Linked DNA regions of Homo sapiens: all the other regions are linked to region 2. Evidence: promoter capture Hi-C in 16 types of primary human blood cells and fetal thymus (Javierre and others, 2016). All regions are on one chromosome and are shown on one strand. The core of a region is centred on a gene start or on the middle of the fragment in contact, and the rest is flanking DNA. Distances in the headings are between cores, read along the strand shown.

Evidence for each region. The method cuts DNA at HindIII sites, captures the fragments that hold promoters and counts their contacts. A CHiCAGO score of 5 or more calls a contact.
Region 1: a contact is called between a fragment that was not itself captured here and the fragment with the promoter of GFRA3 in region 2, in 1 of 17 cell types (megakaryocytes). The highest score is 5.5, in megakaryocytes.
Region 3: a fragment that was not itself captured here is called in contact with the fragment with the promoter of GFRA3 in region 2 in 2 of 17 cell types (megakaryocytes and erythroblasts); the score reaches 7.4 in megakaryocytes.

Annotation. Positions count from the first base shown.
Region 1 is chr5:138,205,757-138,209,523 of GRCh38, reverse strand. CDC23 (cell division cycle 23) reads left to right here. Exons shown (of 16, transcript NM_004661.4): 3 at 2,840-2,977. Among named protein-coding and RNA genes, the nearest start is that of CDC23, 5.7 kb to the left of the region's middle. The HindIII fragment of the contact is 2,438 bases long and covers 388-2,825 here.
Region 2 is chr5:138,273,042-138,276,768 of GRCh38, reverse strand. GFRA3 (GDNF family receptor alpha 3) reads left to right here and starts at 2,148. Exons shown (of 8, transcript NM_001496.4): 1 at 2,148-2,435. The coding sequence starts at 2,345. RefSeq lists silencers at 2,056-2,145, 2,236-2,425. The HindIII fragment of the contact is 6,195 bases long and covers 1-3,727 here.
Region 3 is chr5:138,181,153-138,184,505 of GRCh38, reverse strand. It overlaps KIF20A (kinesin family member 20A), which reads right to left. Exons shown (of 19, transcript NM_005733.3): 3 at 2,995-3,084; 4 at 2,778-2,897; 5 at 2,045-2,183; 6 at 1,733-1,920; 7 at 1,516-1,645; 8 at 1,143-1,337; 9 at 925-1,036; 10 at 750-818; 11 at 401-544; 12 at 102-267. Among named protein-coding and RNA genes, the nearest start is that of KIF20A, 3.7 kb to the right of the region's middle. The HindIII fragment of the contact is 2,892 bases long and covers 1-2,706 here.

The DNA.
Region 1 (3,767 bases), core at 357-2,856, 67 kb after region 2:
ATAAACATTACCAAAGAAGCATGTCATATAAGGCCTTAAACTCGTTATCCTTTGTCTTGGACTTAAAGCTTTTCTTTTCTTTTCTTTTCTTTTTTTTTTTTTGAGTCTCACTCTGTTGCCCAGGCTGGAGTGCAATGGCATGATCTCCACTTACTGCAACCTCCACCTCCCAGGTTCAAGTGATTCTCCTTCCTCAGCCTCCCAAGTAGCTGGGATTACAGGTGCTCACCACCACACCTGGCTAATTTTTTGTATTTTTAGTAGAGATGGGGTTTCACCATGTTGGCTAGGCTGGTCTTGAACTCTTGACCTCAGGTGATCCACCTGTCTTAGCCTCCCAAAGTGCTGGGATTACAGGCATGAGCCACCACACCTGGCCCTGAAGCTTAGCTTTTCTGAATATAAGATGTGACTAGGACCAATTGTGGCTTCTTGGTTTAAAAACTCAACCTGGCTGAGCATGGTGGCCCATGCCTGTAATCCCAGCACTTTGGGAGGACTGCTTGAGGCCGGGAGTTCCAGACCAGCCTAAGCAACATAGTGAAACTATATCTGTACTAGAAATACATGGTGGTGCGGTGGCACGCACCTGTGGACCCAGTGACTTCAGAGGCTGAGGTGGGAGGAGGATCACTTGAGCCCAGGAGGCTGAGGTTGGAGTGATTTGAGATTGCGCCACTACACTGCAGCCCAGGAGACAGAGTGAGATCCTGTCTCAAAACGAAACAAAACTCAGCCAAATGCTAAATGCCTCTAAATTACATGTAATTTTCAGTAGAACATTCCAGATTCTTCCCATAAGCAAGAATGAAACAGAAAAATTTAAGATTATATAATCCAAATAGTAAAACTTTCTGAATTATAAGGATATATCGACTGTTACGAATATATTTTATGCTGGGCCTATAGTATGCATGTATACATAGTCTTGTATAATCTGAATGCTTTTCATTATAATCCATTTTGTTTTCCTGATGATGCCTTTCTTGATTTTTTTGTCCCATTCAGCAATAACAAGTATTTCTTACTCAAAAAGGCATAATGCAGGTGAAAGAGTTAGGGGGAAAGAAATAAACAAGTGGTGAGTTGATATGAGAAGGGCCTCCAGAATCCTAAATCAAATGGTCGTATTTAGGACATGTTGATCTAATGAAGAAAGCACTGAATATGTTTTGGTTCCAGTTTTGTTCTGGTGATATTTGGGGCAAGAAAGATGAGGAAAATACAGTTATTCAAATTTTAATTAACTCATCCTTAGAATTTGGAGGATTGGGCCGGTGGTGGCTCGTGCCTGTAATCCCAGCACTCTGCTGTGAGTTCAAGGCGGGTGGATCGCTTGAGGTCAGGAGTTCAAGACCAGCCTGGTGAAACTCCGTCTCTACTAAAATACAAAAATTAGCCAGGCATGGTGGCGGGCACCTGTAATCCCAGCTGCTAGGGAGGCCGAGGCAGGAGAATTGCTTGAACCTAGAAGGTGGAGGTTACAGTCAGCCAATATCACACCACTGCATTCCATCCTAGGCGACAGAGCGAGGCTCTGTCTCAAAAAAAAAAAAGAATTTGGGGGATTGAATTTTTGTTTTTTGTTTTTTTTTTGAGACAGAGTCTTGCTACGTCACCAGATTGAAGTGATGTGGCGCGATCTTGGCTCACTGCAGCAAGGCTCAGCCTCCCGAGTAGCTGGGACCCCCGGCACATAGTACCATGCCCAACTATTTTTTTGTATTTTTAGTAGAGGCAGGGTCTTGCCACGTTGCCCAGGCCGGTCCTGAACTCCTGAGTTCAAGCCATCCTCTTGCCCTGGTCTCCCACAGTGCTGGGATTACAGCCACTGCGCTCAGCCAAGGATTGTATGTTTTTAACTTAAATGTGACATTATCTAATTTTTTTTTAACATAGAGAATTACAGCTGTGTTCTGTGCCTTCAGCAATACTAAATTATGACAAAACTTTATTGAAGTACAAAAAATATAAGTAATTGCACGTACATTGCATTTATGTAGGACTGTAAAAGACAGGAGAAGGAATAGAATGCCAGTATTAATGCTGGATATTTTATGTGACTCACATTTTCCTCAAGTCAAATCTGTAAGGTCAGTATTATTGGCTTCATTTTACAGATGAAGAAATGGATGCTAAGAGAAGCTAAGTAACCTCCCTACCAATGTCCTGAAACCAGGAAATCAAAAAGTCAGAATTTGAATCTAGGTCCTTAACACTAAAGCCTATTCAACTTTCTACTACATTTATAGAAACAATACACATTTATGAGTGTTCGTTTAGTTTTTTAAAGTTTTCTTTTTTCTCCATTTTTTTATTTTGAAAAAATTAGAAAGAAAAACTTGGCCGGGTGCGGTCGCTCATACCTGTAATTCCAGCACTTTGGGAAGCCGAGGCAGGCAGATCACTTGAGGCCCTGAGTTTGAGACCAGCCTGGCCAACATGGCGAAACCCCATCACTACTAAAAATACAAAAATTAGCTGGAAGTGGTGGCGCACACCTGTAATCCCAGCTACTCTGGCAGCTGAGGCACAATAATCGCTTGAACCTGGGAGGCAGAGGTTGCAGTGAGCTGAGATTGCGCCACTGCACTCCAGCCTGGGTGACAGAGTGAGGCTCTGTCTCAAAAAAAAAAAAAAAAAAAGAGTTCTATGGGCTTACTTGGTAATAAAATAAATATATAAAATTATATATATATGCATCTACATATTCTAGGTTTTTAGGAGGAAGAAAACAATCCTTTTTCTTTTACATCTTGAAATTAACGAATATACTTTTTAGATTTGAAGTTTTGTTGTCCTATTCCCAACCACTTACATAAGCTTGTTTCTTTTTTAGGAAGATGCCCAGGATATGGATGCCTATACCCTGGCCAAGGCCTACTTTGACGTTAAAGAGTATGATCGGGCAGCACATTTCCTGCATGGCTGCAATAGCAAGAAAGCCTATTTTCTGTATATGTATTCCAGATATCTGGTGAGGGCCATTTTAAAATGTCATTCTGCCTTTAGTGAAACATCCATATTTAGAACCAATGGAAAAGTTAAATCTTTTAAATAGCTTAGCAGTGGGCCACTGAATGAATGTACTTTATACATAGCAATAATAAAAAAAAGATATCATAAATAAAGTTAAAAAGGATGGTAGAGAAGAAAATATTCTTAGGAATGACTAACAGGATAAGTAACAACCTGATTATTTATTTACTTTAGGTTATATAAGGTTCTTCATGCCTGTGAATTAATATTATTGTGTAAGAATTAAGTTAAAAAGCCTGGGCTGACTTTTAAATTTATAAATTCATTTATCATGTTTATAGTATATTTATTGTTTTTCTTTCATGGCTATTAAAAAGTATGACTGTAAAGGACAATGCAAGTAAACCAACTTAATACTGTATTGAATAATAAGTACAATTTATTATTTTACTTTGAAACATTATGAATTTACTTTCCTACTTTTTCTTAGTTGTTATCTATATAAATTGATTAAAAAAACATTTTATGTACTTCTCATTTCCTAGTACAGGTTGAGTATCCCTTATTTGAAGTGCTTGGGACCAAAAGTGTTTCAGATTTCAGATTTTTTTCAGATTTTGGTATATTTGCATTATACTTACTGGTTGAAATAAAAAATGCTGCAGTGAGTGTCATTGGTGCTTTGAGTGTCATTGGTGCTGAAAAAGTTTTGGGTTTTGGAGCAATGCAGATTTCAGATCTTATGATTTAGGTTGATCAACTATTAGCATAGCTTGTATTTGTCAAGC
Region 2 (3,727 bases), core at 899-3,398:
CTTAATCATTTTGCACCTAGCATAAAGCTGGGCTCATAATCATTCTCAAAACACATTATTGAATTGAATGATGGATGAGTAACATCATCTCTGTAGAAAGGACTGGCTCATTTGTCATTGTCCACAAGGGGCAATGCTGCTTATCTAGCAGGTGTTGGCAGTCACAGAGGACATGGTTGGTGGAGAGGGTGTGCTGGAGGGCTGTCAATATTAGTCTTGGAGTCATATTTATTTGCAGAGCTTCTCCAATCCTCATTAAAGGCCCAATGATATGAGGCTCTCCACCCCTGTACCCAGACAGAAATATGCACCAGACACTTTATTTTCTCTCATGAAAAGGCTGGCCTGTTACAGGTGGGATTGGTCATTGCTCCCAGCCCGTCAGCTTGATACTGCATTCTTGGTCTATTCTGTGGGGACAGCCCTGGAATAGACACTGAGTATCTATCAGAGTAGGCACCCTGAGCAAACTTCCTTTCCCAAACCCTCTTCCTGCCCATAACATGATTTGGCTTGGGCTGGAGGAGGGGGAGGGCAGAGGAGACACCCCTTGACCACCTCACATCTTTGTTGGTTCATGGGTCTCAGCCCTTTCCTATCATCCCAAAGAGCCTGAAATTGTTACATTTTGCTTTATAAATTCCTTTCTTAAGTATTGTCAGTTTCAAAAAAAAAAACCCAAAAAACGATTGTCTGCCTGTAATAGCAGGTGTGAGAGAAAATGAGGTGCCTGGAGCATATTTCTCTCTGGCAATGGGGTAGAGGGCCTGACATCATGGGGCCTTTAATGGTAGCCCCCCAGCTTCATGTTCCCTCACCTTTCTGGAGAGGAGGGCTTGGGAAAGGCACATGGAGATAGGGTGGAGCTGGGGGAAAACAGGCCTTGTACAAAAGCTGAGTAGCCAGATGTTCACTTTTACAGCTCTTCTGTAAAACTGGCAGGGCAGATATAGATTAAAACGAAGGACAAACTCCATTTAAAGTGCATTACAGCTCAGGAACCAGCACCCCCTGGGCAGGAGAAGGGAGGGAAGGGCACAGAGGCCACATCAGTCTCCTTCCTTATCTAGGGCCACATGTCTCTCTCCTAGCTTTGCCAAGGGTGATTTACACCCCCAGCTGGAATGACTCTCTTTCTGGGCTGATTACATCGGCAAATGCCCCCCAGAGGCCACAGCAGGATGGCCATATTCAGAAGCAGCAGCCAATAAATCTCAGAGGTTTATATTGCGATTCTCAGTACTCCCTGCTGGCCCTCTGCCAGGCTGGCTGTGGAAGTAAGGAGGGGGTCAAGTTAGAGGGTTAGGGGATGAAACCCTCCACTTCCTTTCATCACCCTCTTCTCCTTCTCTCTTTCTATGCGCTGCTTAGTTCTCATTCTTCCAAGCCATTCTGCTTCTGGCTTTATCCTGGGATCTTGTGGGAATCAGGCCCAGGCCCAATAAATACCCTTATCCTTATGGGTAGACGTCCTGTGTTCTGGGCACAGATGTGTTTCTACCTAGTTGTTTAATCCTGATAGAGTAGCTTGCTCTCCGAAAGTCTCATCATGTGAAAAGGATGGGCTCCTAAATGGTCTCTCCAGGCACCTTCCTCAGTGAGCTTTGGTCCAAGGAAATCTCTGCTATTTAGTGGAGAGTTTAATCTTCCATCTTCCCTCACGACACCATCGGGGCTGAATTTTGGAATCTAATGCCCCAGGTCTGCTCCCCCAGCAAAGCCATTCCACCTGTCTGCGACCCATCTTTGCAGCATCTTGAGCTTAATAACCACCCAATCTTACCCTAGAAGACACTTAGGAGAGGAAAAAACGAGATCATAGATGTGCAAATTCTAAGAAAAATACTAGAAATGCAAGTGCCCTTGTGTTGGCTTGTTCAAGTTTTGTTACAAAATCTCTTTTGTGGTGGTGTCTGTTCTTTGATGTGTGGGTGAGTGGGATCCAGAAAGTGAGAAAGGGTGCTTTTCTTGGAGAAATATTTGGTTCTCCTAGATGGCGAGTTTCCAGCGGCAGCTTCCACAATGTCTTGCTAGTCGAACTTGTCAGACAGCAGGTGGGCCGCCTCGGAAAGAGCAACCTCTTCCGCACCAAGCCCGGCGGCTCCCGGGGCGCCGGCCCTCCCCCGCCCCCACCCCCGCGGTCCCTCGGACCAGCGCTGGAGGCGCGTGGTGTGGACGCGCGCTTCGGAGTTGGAGGGCGGCGCCCAGGACCCTGGTGGGAGAGTGTGTGCGTCGCGCTGGAGGGCGGGAGGCGGGGGCGGGAGGTGCCGGTCGAGGGAGCCCCGCTCTCAGAGCTCCAGGGGAGGAGCGAGGGGAGCGCGGAGCCCGGCGCCTACAGCTCGCCATGGTGCGCCCCCTGAACCCGCGACCGCTGCCGCCCGTAGTCCTGATGTTGCTGCTGCTGCTGCCGCCGTCGCCGCTGCCTCTCGCAGCCGGTGAGTGTCAGAGCGCGCACCGGCCGGGGGTACAGTGGGAGGGGGAGGTGAGGTGTAGGCGAGGCCCGGGGCACCTGTCCGGAGAGGGCGCAGCAGCCTCCCGGTGCATCCGAGCCGAACAAGGGGAACTGGAGCAGGAAGCCCAGGGTGCCTGCAAGGGGCTGGGGTCACACCTAACACAGTGTACGAACTGAGATAGACTGAGTGCCAGCAATGGCCTGGCCACCCAAGCATCTCCTCCTCGCCCCTTTTTCCCCCCTCTTCCCTCTTTTGAGGTAGGTCTACACAGTCACAGAACAACCCACAGCCAGGTCACTACCAAGACAGCGTCTCTAAGAGGCGGGGAGAATCAGATCAGAAACAGAGTGTCATTTGCTCCACGTGGGCTTTAACTCTTCCATCTGCTTTAAGGACTGAGGAAGAAACTAGGTACAGGTGAAGAAAAAGAAGTTCGTTAAAACTGACTTGTTTCATAACCTTCTACAATAGCAGGCCTTGCAAGCCGTCTAGCACAGTGGCTTGCCCCTTGGATAATAAATAATCCACAATAGATGTTTTGTAGATGTAGTTCAAGGCCTGGTTTTAGAACCAGGCCACTCCCCCAAGGAAGAACAGCCTGGGATCCGAGATCCCTGGAAGGCCCATGGCCTTCGTGAGTGGTATGGGTGTGTGGAATCTTATTATGCGGCTCCTGCCCAGAGACTGAATGGAGGGACTCCTGAGACAGAGAGACCACCACACTGCCCTGAGACCTCAGTCCACAACGCAGTGCTGTAGAAATGCTGCCTTGAGACAGATATGGAAGGAAGGAGGAAAAACCCTGGTCTGTCCACCTGCCAACATCAGTAAGTCAGGGCAGCAAGACATCACCAGTCTGATTTGACTGCCCAGGAAATTTCACTAATCCTAAAGGTTATGGCTGCATGTCAGGATCAGGGGAAAACATTAAACACCTTTCTCATTAAATGGTTTAATGAAGCAGTGTTGGTGACAGATCTATTTTCCACAGTAATACTTGACAGCAATGACATCTGGTTAAGTAGCCTCATTGAAAATCCATAAAACAGTCATCTAGGAGGTACCATGTAGAGCCAAGTGCTCTTCAAGAGCACAGACCAACAGAGGGCTTTGGGGGTGGAAAATATCATTGCTCAGGGCCTGCTAAAGCCAAGCATATAGGAGACCTCCGATTCATGGGGAAGTGGTGTCATGTACTGAAAATCATTCTGAAGTGGATAGGAGGCTGGAGTCCTGGGTTCTAGCCTTGACTCGGTCTTGACTTGCTACATCCC
Region 3 (3,353 bases), core at 11-2,510, 91 kb after region 2:
GGAAAAAAAATATCTTACTTGACTCCATAAGTAGTCCCTAGGAGCTTTCTTAGAGTTACCAGTTCCAAGTGCGCACACCCATCACACCTCTAGCTTCTCACCTGGCTAGCAATGGCTGAGAACTTGGCCACATGAAGAGTTTCATCATAGGTAGATGCACAGGGATTCACATTGACAATCATGCAGGAACGGCCTCGGCCTGTGAAGAAACCTTGGAACACTCGAGTCAACTTGCTGTCACGGAAGGGAACCAGGTTCTGCTTTGACCTGGCAGAGAATCAGAGATAATAGAGCTGTGAGCAGAACACCAGCCCTTTGGGTATCCTAGCACCATCCCCAGTGGTGTCCAGGAAGTCTCTTAGCAAATTGCAGAGCCCAGGAATTATAGTCAAAAGCTCACCGGTTCTGCTGGTTTTGACGAAGGGCAGCAATACAGCGGCCCAGGGTGTGTAGAGAGGTGTTAATGTTTCCTGCTTCCTTCAACCGTTCACCACTCTTCTGATCTTTGCAGCGCTCTGAGCCAGCCAGATCACAGAGTGACAGCCTAGAATGATGCACAGGATCTGACATAAGGGCCTCACATGTTATGAGCCTTCTGGCCCTTTGTATAATTCTGGAGAGGGGACGGCCCACTAAGAATCTCTGTACCCAAAGAAGGAGAACACATAGTTCCCCTGAGGACCTCCTCCATGCTTTCCCAACTATCATTTATGGCCAAGAAGCCCAAATTTCTAAATGGATAAACTTACTCGCTGATCTTGGGGACTATATCTCCTTCCCCCTGAAGGTGTAGGATCCTGATTGAGAAGATGCTGTGACTGGAAGTTAAGAAAAACAAAAAGTCATTGCACATTTTCCATGACCAGGCAGAGGACTAATGTTTCCTGGAACACAGTGAAGAGTTTATTCTTACAATCTACTCACCTGCGGCTGGAGTTCTGGTTGAGGTGGGTGCTGGCAAAGCTCTGGTTCTTACGACCCACTTTTAGGAGCTTCCAGGCCTCCTCAGCATCTTGCACATGAATCCAGTTGAGATCTGGGGCCAAAGGAGAGGGGTGTAAGATGGGAACATCCAACTCTTTTGCCAGTCTCTCCCCAGTTGCCCTCCAGGGTTCATGCCAGCTTTCCCCATGTTCCTTTACCTTTCACATAGGGATTGCCATTTTGATCCTCGCATAGCCGCAAAGTCTGCCTCTTGCGCTGTTGGCTAGGCGGTTCTAATAGGTCATAAAGCAGTTCGTTGTAGATCTCAAAGAATGAGATCCAGATGGAGAAGCGAATGTTTGCCGGGACAGGTAGTGGGGCAGTGTCTGGCTGTGCCCATCGATGACTTGTTTCTGGAGAAGAAGCCAATGTATAGGGCATCAACCTAGAGCAGTTCACCTCTCTTTTGGCCTGCAGGGGCCTTGGAAGGCAGACCTTAGATTGCAACCTCTGGTCTGTACTCCTGGCAGCTATTAGGAACAGGGAGTGAGTTCCTACTATTTTTTGGCAGAGCCCAGTCACGGTACATACCATCCAGCTGGCTACTGCTGGTACACTGACTGATAGAAGAGAGCCCAGCAATGCCACTGTCGAAGCTGGTGCTGGTACCTATCCGACTTTCGATGTAGACACTCCTCTTCAAGGAAGTGGACAGCTCCTCCTGGAGGGGCACAGGGAGAAGGTAAGCACAAAACTTCCCCGAGATTTGTACCCCCTACCCCCACTGCCATGGATACCAATGCTTTACCTCTTGGAGGCCTCCATTTAGCAGGGACAGCTTCTTCATTTCCTCCTGTCGGATCTGCTTGCTGTCTAGCCAGATTACCTCATTGGAGAGCAAGGGCTTCAGATCAGGTGTTGGATGAAGTTGGCCTTGGAGGCTATTGAAGATCAGCGCCAGGGACCGGGGGAGAATCCCTCCATCCTTGATGGTACCTGGAGGCATATGAAAGATGGACAGCTGAGGCAAGTGCCCTTCTCCCCCTAACTCAGAGTCTCAAAAGGTAAAAACAACACCATTACCAGCCAATCAGGAATCCCGTGAAGGCTTACTACTCACCTTGAATCGTGTGGGTTTTCCCTGAGTTAGTGACTCCATATGTATAGATGAGCCAGTTCTGCCCTTTGAGTACATCCTTTACCATCTCCTTCACAGTTAGGTTGAAGAAGGATGCCTGTCCCACTTCTGGCCCAAAGATCTAGAGAGAGACCCAGTTTTTTAGAGGCCTCTCCTTCATCTCCCACTTGCCTCCTGTGCAGAGCCAGCAGATATATTCCTTCCTGAGTGGTTGGCTCTGGAGACCACTCAAGCAGCTTCTTCCTGCAATGCTGCTGGCTGTTCCCTAAACACTGAGGACTCAAGCACTCTCTGCTAGTCCATCTTTCCACCAAATCAACAAACACTTAAGGAATGCTATGCCCTAGGCCTGATGCTGCACACACAATGGGGCAATATAATGGCCCACAAGTATGGGCTTTGGAGATACATGGATCTAGACTCAGGTCCTAACTCTACTAGTGACTAGCTACATGGCTTCAGCAATATTACATTCATTGAGCCACACTATCCTTGTGAGGAAAATAAGGAAATAATGATAATAACAATAGAATTTTTCAGAACTGATATACATATGTTACTTGACACATTGACTAACACATAACTAGGGCCCTCAAAATTGTAGGTGTGCATATACAAGGAACTCACAGTCAGGAAGAGAAGCTTTCCCTCTAAAGAGGGAATAAAGTTGCCCTTACATGTTGGTCTTTTGTTCACAAACCAGTACCCTCCATACCTGGGAAAAGGTGAACCTGTGTGTGGCTTGGCCAATTCCCCGTTCATTGCTCTTCAGGGCAAAAGAGTCCTTGGGTGCTTGTAGAACAAGGGTCTCCACATTCTCAATACGGACACAACCCTGAGAAGGGAGAAAATACAGTTGTCACAGAAGGCATTCCTGGGAATCTTTTGTACTGCATCATTTCACCTTGAATCCTCCCTTCTCAGACACTTACCTGATCTTCCTGTCGTTCCAACTCTGAAGGTAACAAGGGCCTAACCCTCAAGTATACTTTCACCTTCTCCATACTGTCCTCAGATGGAACCTGTGGCAGAATCCCAGCCCAGAACCACAGATTAATTTCAGCAGTTACCTCTGAGCAAATGGGCAAACAGTAGTTTCTAGGAACTATGATAACACTACCCCATTTCACCTCAAATGTCTCTGTGCAGCTACTCTTTGGTTCCACAATCATTCCAACCCACATGGACATTTTTACTACTTTGTCACCCTTCCCTGTCTCGTCATTATCCTGCAAATGTGGCTTGCCACACCGATGATCTGAGTTCGAATTTATTGACTGGTATGAAAATT